Regions from separate parts of the Homo sapiens genome. Here all the other regions are linked to region 2. Evidence: promoter capture Hi-C in 16 types of primary human blood cells and fetal thymus (Javierre and others, 2016). All regions are on one chromosome and are shown on one strand. The core of a region is centred on a gene start or on the middle of the fragment in contact, and the rest is flanking DNA. Distances in the headings are between cores, read along the strand shown. Region 1 overlaps EPRS1 (glutamyl-prolyl-tRNA synthetase 1). Region 2 holds the start of FAM177B (family with sequence similarity 177 member B). Region 3 overlaps RAB3GAP2 (RAB3 GTPase activating non-catalytic protein subunit 2).

Region 1 (2,700 bases), core at 79-2,578, 2.8 Mb before region 2:
CATATTTTAGAATCTGAACATAAAAAGCAGCCATTGACAGACTTAAAACATAAAAATCAACTGAATGCATACTCACCTGAGAATACCAATCAGCAAGATTTTCTTCTTTTTTTGCCTCAAGACCCAACCTGCAGATGTGAAAAGTAAAAGATAAATATCTTCATTCAGCAACTGCTTTAGGTTGAATAAAAATAAACCTCTAAAGTTCAAAATAGATTAGTCTTTCTTCAGTATGAGTTATTTCTGTATTTGTAACTCTTCTATATTCATTCCCAAGATAACGTTGTTGTTTTCTTGTTTTGTTTTTGAGACAGGGTCTTACTCTGTCACCCAGGCTGGAGCGCAATGGTGTGATCCTGTCTCACTGCAACCTCGGACTCCTCAGCTCAAGAGATTCTCTCACCTCAGCCTCCCCAGTAGCTAGGACTACAGGTGCATACAACATCTGGCTTATTTTTTTATTTTTATTTTTTGGTAGAGGCAGGGTCTCGCTATGTTGCCCAGGCCAGTCTTGAACTCCTGGCCTCATGCAATCCTCCTGTTCTGGCCTCCCAGAGTGCTGGGATTACAGGCATGAGCCACCATGCCTAGCCCCTAAGATAATGTTTTTAACCTAAAAAAACAGTAGAAATGCTGGGCACAGTGGCTCACGCCTGTAATCCCACCACTTTAGGAGGCCAAGGCAGGCAGATCACCTGAGGTCAGGAGTTTGAGACCAGCCTGACCAACATGGAGAAACCCTGTCTCTACTAAAAACAAAATGAGCCAGGCGTGGTGGCGCATGCTTGTAATCCCAGCTACTCGGGAGGCTGAGGCAGGAGAATGAATCGCTTGAACCTGGGAGGTAAAGGCTGCAGTGAGCCGAGATTGCGCCATTGCACTCCAGCCTGGGCAACAAAAGTGAAACTCCGTCTCAAAAGAAAAAAAAAAAAAAAAGAAAGAAACAAAAACAGCAGAGACATCTCTTAAAAAGTTGAGAGATATTGTCCACAAAATCTAGGAAAGCCAAATGTAACAAAAGCTATGATTCTATGCAGACATCTCTTTTACAAGGTTCTTTTTAAGGCAATGTATTTGTAATAGAGACACAGCCTGTTCACACCTATTCTCCCACTAAAAAAGAAGAATCTTATGCCAGTTAAAATTATAGTAAGATCACTGTTTCACTGAAAGTAACACCTAAAAAGTAATAAAAACAATGGCTATAAATACACACACATATGTGTGTGTACTGATGTGTGCATATTAGCCAAATTTATGTAAGTTTTTCTTTTTCTTTTTTTGAAACAGTCTCACCCCATCGCCCAGGCTGGAGTGCACTGGTGCAATCTAGACTCACTGCAACCTCCACCTCCCAGGTTTAAGCGATTCTCGTGCCTCAGCCCCCCTCCCCCACCCAAGTAGCTGGGATTACAGGTGTGTGCCACCATTCCTGGTTAATTTTTTTGTATTTTTAGTAGAGGCGGAGCTTTGACATGTTGGCCAGGCTGGTCTCAAACTCCTGACCTCAAGCGATCCACCCATCCCAGCCTCCCAAAGTGCTGGCATTACAGGTGTGAACCACCACGCCTGGCCTCAAGTTTTTCTTTTAACTAGAATAAAAGTTGCAGAGATAGATGCTTGTAAAATAAACTAGGTCTCCAATAAAAAAACTATTTCAGACAATAATCATTTTCTTGAAATATCAACAATTATTCAGGATAGAGATGGTCTCTTTTTGGAGTTTAAAAACAAGGTTTTACTGGCTAAAAATTTTAATGTATTTGCATTTGCATTCTCCATTGTTTCACTATGACATACCTCAACAAAATAACTCTGTGAAACCTAGCACTTTCACAGGCACTAAGAAAGTAAAAGGTGAGAAGTTCTACATTCTCTTCTACCCTGCTATAACTCTGGTTATTCAGTTTAATAGTCAAAAGGAAAAATAACTGTTGCATTCTCTTGTTTAAAGAGACATTGTGTATATGACATGAGAGCTAAGAGGCAGCAAAATTTGATACTCAGCTAAACAAATGTAAAACCAAAGTATCTCAGTAACAGCTTTTTCTTCTTATTAAGTAAGCCATTAAGGGAAACCCATCACAAAGTTCACTGTAATTGTGGAAACAGATAAAAAATTACAATTATGCGTCACTTAATGACATGAATACATTTTCAGAAATACGCTGTTAGGTGATTTCATCATTGTGCAAACATCATAGCTTGTACTTACACAAACCTAGATGATATACATATATTTTTATATGGAAAACCAAATATCCCAGCAACATTACTGAATATCAATAATTTCCCCCACTTGATCTGCGATGCCAATATCAAGTGCCATATATCAGGTTTCCATACATGCTCCATTATAATCTTATGGACCAATGTCATATATGTAGTCCACTGTTGACTGACACATCATTATGTGGTGTATGACCGTACATTATTTATACAGATTGGAAGATCCTTAAAGAGCCCTCTATCCAACCATTTTGTCTTTAGTCAGTTTTGTCTTATATTTAAACTATCAATTTTTAAATTGAGAATGAAGCTCTCACTTAGTCCCCACAAAAGATCTTCATCTGAAAAAAATCTGCTTAAGGTGCAAAACAATGTGTATAATTAGGCTACCAATCATGTTTAAAAAGGAGGAGAGAAAATATGTATGTGTGTGTGTGTGTGTGTGTGTATCTGTATTTACTTGAATAATAA
Region 2 (2,700 bases), core at 40-2,539:
TCACTTTGGGTTACCATAAGTTTGTATCTAAAGATTTTATTTGACATTTGAATAATTTGCTTAAAATTTAAATATTTAAGAATGTTATAGTAATAAAGGGATCAAAATAGTTAATCTGGAAGGGGAGTTGACAAATTATAAAACAGAAAACTATATTTGATTGTGCATATCCAAAAAGCCAGAGCTATCACTTCAGCAATTTAATGTATCTAATGCCTGTGATTTGCTTGAGGTCGGTAGAAGCTTATATAGTCACTTTCAGAGCACTCCCCTGAGAAAATGTCAAGACTTGAATTTGCTTCTCTAATGCAGAGCTTCTCAAGTAGTTTGTCTCAAGCTATTGATCGAAGCCTTCTGGGTGTCTAGCTGGGCAGCACTTAAGGTGGCTGGAGCTCCCAGGCTGGTCGCCTCCAGAATTCCAAACAACTAATTTTCTCTATCTGCCATGATGTAAAAAATGCTGTGAAACACCACAGTGGGACAGGCATGGACAGGCATGCAGGCAGTGGGGTGCATGTATGTGGTTTAATACTGAAAATAAGGATACAAAAATCCTGCCAGGTGATGCTCCTGTAATTCTCAAGGAGCGGCAGTGATTTGTTATTTCACATTTTTCCTCACTCTATCCTTGCCCCTGACACACACACTGCAAGTCACTGATTGGAGCAGGCCAGTTCCTTCAGGTGAAGGGGCCTAGAGAAATGTCGGTGAATACCCAGTGAATACCACGCTGTGAAACTCTGCATCTGAGGCACGCAGTGGGGCTTTGGTTCTCTCCTCTCACCAGGGGTTTGACCTTTCAACCACCTCAGAAAAAAGGAAAGGTGGAAGCAGGAAGGGGGACCAGCAGCTCCAGGCAAGCAATGCTAATTAGCTCCAGCGTAATGACCCAACATCAGTTCTTAGCTGAATTTTAACAGTCCATTTGAAAACATTTTCTAGATAAATGAAAATGGAAAGAGCTCTAGAAAATGTTTAAGTGTTACATACTTAAAATAGTATATTTACTTATTGAAGTTAAATGCCAAGATGTAGAACTAGTGTGTTATTTTCTTGGTACAGATTACAATGCTGTGTTTCAGTGAAGGAGCTAATTGAAATGATTAGTAGATAGATGTAATCAGAAAAATATTAAATGAAGATAGTAATTTCTAAAGCAGGAAATAAAGACAGTTACAAGTCTGTTCTTATTTTTCCAATCTGTTATATAACTCCTCCCACCCATTAACCTTAACTAAATGTATGATTCATTTGTTAAACAAATACTGAGTTCCAGCTACGTGTAAGGCATCATAGGGGCAGAAGATACAGCAGTGAACATAACAGGTAAAACCCTCCCCCTCTGCCAAGGGGCAGGACAGGGAGGAAAGGGAAGACAGAGACAGGTGGAATATGGAGTGTTCAGTGTTGGTAAGTGCTAAGGAGAAAAAATGAAACAGGAGGTAAGATGCAGAGGGTGGTGGTGAAGGCAATGGGAGGTTGCCTTGAAAGCGGAGCTCAGTGTAGTCTCCATTTGAGTTAAAGACTGGAAATGAGCAAGGAAACAGTCTAAGGAAAGAAAGACTAATAGAGCAGCCAGCAGAGAGCTCTCTGCAGAGAGAGAGGGCGGACCTGTGTGGTCAGGGAATTGCAGGAAGAAGGCCCGTGGGGTTAGAGTGATGTCAGTGGTGGGAGAGTAGTACAAGATGGCGTCAGAAAGCTCGTAGGGGTTAGGTATACAGCCTTGTAGGCCATTATGAGGAGTTTGGCTTTTACTCTAGGTGAGACGGGAACCCACTGGAGAGTTTTAAGCAAAGACATGACATGGTCTCACTTAGGATTTAACAATTCTGGCTCCTTTTCGAGCGTAGACTGGAGGGGGCCAATTAGGAGGCTGCTGCAATAATCTAGGTGAGAGACGACGGCAAGGGTGAGAGATGATAGACCAGGGTGGTAGCAGTGGAGTAATGAAAAGTATGATTCCAGAAATATCCAAGACAATTTCCTGGCAGATTTGATGTGAGGTGTGATTAAAGAAGAACCAAGAATGACTTTAGTGTTGTTGGCCTGAGCAACTGGAAGAACAGAGTTGCCATTTATTGAGATGAGAAGGCTGCCAGAAGAGTAGAGGTAAATGTGTGAGTATGTGTGTGTTGGGGGGATGGAGGGAGAGTTGCACTGAAAGCATGAGCAAAGATTTAGACAAATTAGGATTGAGATGTCCATTAGACAACTAAGAAGAGATGTCAAGCAGGTAGTTGGATCTGTGAGACTCAGGGAAAAAGTCTGACCTGGAGAATATAAATGTTACAATCATCTGTGTGTGGATAGTATTGAAAGCCACAGGGCCAAAGGAGATCATCAAGAAAGCAGATAGGAAAGAGAAGAGGTCCAATCACTGAGCCCTGGGGTAATACAATATTTAAAAGGTCAGAGAGATTATATGGCCTGTTAATTACATTATATACTTAGGAACTATCCTTCATAGTCTGTATTTGGGGTTTTTAAGAAACAAAAGGTAGAGGTGCTCCCAAGAATTAAACTGAGCCGGGCGCAGTGGCTCATGCCTGTAATCCCAGCACTTTGGGAGGCTGAGGCAGGAGGATCGCTTGAGTCCAGAAGTTCAAGACCAGCCTGGGCAATATAGGGAGACTCCGTCTCTACAAAAACTGCAAAAAAAAAAAAAAAAAGGCTGGGCGTGTGGCACGTGCCTGTGGGAGG
Region 3 (2,700 bases), core at 94-2,593, 2.5 Mb before region 2:
GAAGTCTTGTGGGACTGAGCTCTTAACCTGTCGTGATGATCTCATGCTATCTCCAGGTAGATGGTGTCAGAATCGAACTGAATTAGAGAATAACCAGCTGGTGTTAGCTGGAGAATCTGCCAAAGAAATTGACTGGTGTGTGGGAAAAAAAAAAAAAACCCTACATCTAGTGGCAGAAGTGTCGAGTGACTGTGTAAGAGAAAAGAAAAAACCTGTGATACAGTTTTTTCTTACATTTTCACAGTAGCATTATTTTAGATGCTGTGAATTATAAAAATCAAGTATTTGGTAAGGTTCCTACTTGAAGGAGCTTAAAAGACCTAAAGAAAAAAAAGTCGGGGAAGCTATGATTAACATACATGAAATAATTAGAAAATAAGTAGTCATTAACTATCCAGTTTTGATTGAAAGTAGAGTAGGAGTTCAGAGTTATCCATGGGGATCGAAGCATTATGTAAGAATTTGTGGAGTTAGGACTTGAATAGCATTATGAGGGGTTTGGATAGGAGGAGTGGGAGTAAAAGAAATCACCAGTGGTGACCATATTATAACCACGAGCCTGGCAAAAAGTAAAGGTCTGGCAATACCATGGAATATTGAGGCTGTGGAGTAACAGGGACTCATACAGAACAGGTGGGAATATAAATTAGTACAACTATTTTGGGAAACAATTTGCCATCAACTAGTACAGTTGAAGAAGCTCACACCCTAGCAATTCCACTCTTAGGTATAAACGCCAGAGAGACTCTTGCATATGTGAATGAGGAAATATGTACATGGATAAGCATAGCATCATTTGTAATGTCAAAAATCTGGAAACAACCTAACCGTTCACTGACAGGAGTGTAAATAAATTCTAGTCAGTGAGCAGAATTTGTATGGCATAGTAAATGAATCAATTATAACTATAACTACATACACCAATATGAATGACACAGAAACATAATCCTGAAGGAAAAACTAAAGTCACAGAAGACATAGGGCATGACTGCATTTATATAAAGTTTGAAAAGGCAGGAAATGCATCAACAGGTTTCAAAGGAGCCACACAGGAATGACGTAACTATAAAGTAAAGAAAAAGAAAGAACCACAAAATTCTAAATTACAGTTACCTTAGGGATGGGAGAAGGGAATGGGACTGAGGGGGGACACTCAGGGCTCTTTAGAGTTCCTGGTAAGATTTTATTTCCTAAGGTAGGTGGTCATACACACATATTTACTATTTTATATATATAATATATATAATGTAGGGATGTGTAGGTATGTGTATATAAAACACACTCAGATGTATGGCAACCCAGGCTGGAGTACAATGGTGCAATCTCAGCTCACTGCAACCTCCGCCTCCCAGGTTCAAATGATTCTCCTGCCTCAGCTCCTGAGTAGCTGGGATTACAGGCGCCCGCCAATACTGACCCAACTAATTTTTTTGTATTTTTAGTAGAGACGGGGTTTCACCATGTTGGCCAGGCTGGTCTCGAACTACTGACCTCATGATCCCCCTGCCTCGGCCTCCCAAAGTGCTAGGATTACAGTTACAGGCATGAATATTAATTTTTTTTTTTTTTTTTAAAGAGACAACAGGAACTTCTATCTGAAAATAAAGAAAGGGATAAACAATAAAAATGTGAAAAGAAGACTTCAGCCTCTCATGTTTGGGGGAAATAGGAAAATAAAGATTTTCTTAAGAAGGATGTATTATAGCTACTAGCAGGAAAGTTCGTGTATTATATACACTTACTTGTTTTTTGGTTGCAGGGTATTTAATATCAAGAATTAATTCCTTTATTTCTGTTTCAACCAAATCTATAAAGAAAAAAATAATCAAAGTAAAATTTTAATTTTTATAACAGTGAAACATTATTCTGAAAGAAAATGAACATATCTGTACTATCAGTGAGTCTAAAGGATTTTTGGGTTCTCTCACATTAATGTTTTCTTGTTATGAATTATAACACCCTCTAGATGGCACACTTCAGCCTTACAGAGCAATTCCAATAAGCTCATCCATGCATTATTTTGATTGCTCCATTCAGAATATTTTATTGATTTAAAAGATGATAGAACAATATGCTTTATTATTTGTATGAGAGAATACCTACCAAGATTGGGAGATTTTGTTTTCAGTAAGGCTGCTAGTTTCTTCACTAGGTGCATATCCTTGGCTCGTTCACTCTTCTTATCACTAAACCAATAAATATAACAAATTATTACAGAATGTGAAATTATTTTCTTTCTAATTCTGACACACTCCAACTTTTTTTTCCTTTATATATTTCCTATTTAACTTTAAAGATATCAGTCTAAAGACAAAGGAAACAACAAAATAGCAACTACAAAAGAGAGTACAACAAACCTAGGAACTAGGAAAAGTTAGCAGAGGAGCGTCAATCAGCAACACTGGACACACCTTACCTCAGTGCTAAATGGAAGGGAACGTTCACTGTTTTCACACTTCCAGACACTGGATCAACCAGACAGATCTGATAAGTCTGTGGCTGCCAACTCTGACTGGTAACATTATTTAAACCCATTATTTTATAGCCAGGATACAGCAGCCTAAAGAAATCACATACCAATATGGTAAAAATATTAGAACAAGGAGAAATGCCAAAAGGTGCTTTTATTATAGCTAGGAAACCCAACATTATTATCAATTTAGGAGCATTAATAAGGCAACTAAATACTGATAGCAAGTA

Evidence for each region. Contacts are between HindIII fragments. The CHiCAGO score rates a contact against its expected background, and 5 or more counts as called.
Region 1: a contact is called between a fragment that was not itself captured here and the fragment with the promoter of FAM177B in region 2, in 1 of 17 cell types (monocytes). The highest score is 6.1, in monocytes.
Region 3: a contact is called between a fragment that was not itself captured here and the fragment with the promoter of FAM177B in region 2, in 1 of 17 cell types (neutrophils). The highest score is 5.4, in neutrophils.

What each region holds. Positions count from the first base shown.
Region 1 is chr1:219,984,130-219,986,829 of GRCh38, forward strand. It overlaps EPRS1 (glutamyl-prolyl-tRNA synthetase 1), which reads right to left. Exons shown (of 32, transcript NM_004446.3): 21 at 77-128. Among named protein-coding and RNA genes, the nearest start is that of SLC30A10, 57 kb to the left of the region's middle. The HindIII fragment of the contact is 4,066 bases long and covers 1-2,700 here.
Region 2 is chr1:222,735,913-222,738,612 of GRCh38, forward strand. It overlaps FAM177B (family with sequence similarity 177 member B), which reads left to right and starts at 1,290. Exons shown (of 6, transcript NM_001394345.1): 1 at 1,290-1,410; 2 at 1,992-2,109. RefSeq lists an enhancer at 532-1,073. The HindIII fragment of the contact is 3,071 bases long and covers 242-2,700 here.
Region 3 is chr1:220,187,961-220,190,660 of GRCh38, forward strand. It overlaps RAB3GAP2 (RAB3 GTPase activating non-catalytic protein subunit 2), which reads right to left. Exons shown (of 35, transcript NM_012414.4): 15 at 2,417-2,560; 16 at 2,104-2,186; 17 at 1,743-1,807. Among named protein-coding and RNA genes, the nearest start is that of MIR664A, 11 kb to the right of the region's middle. The HindIII fragment of the contact is 3,385 bases long and covers 1-2,700 here.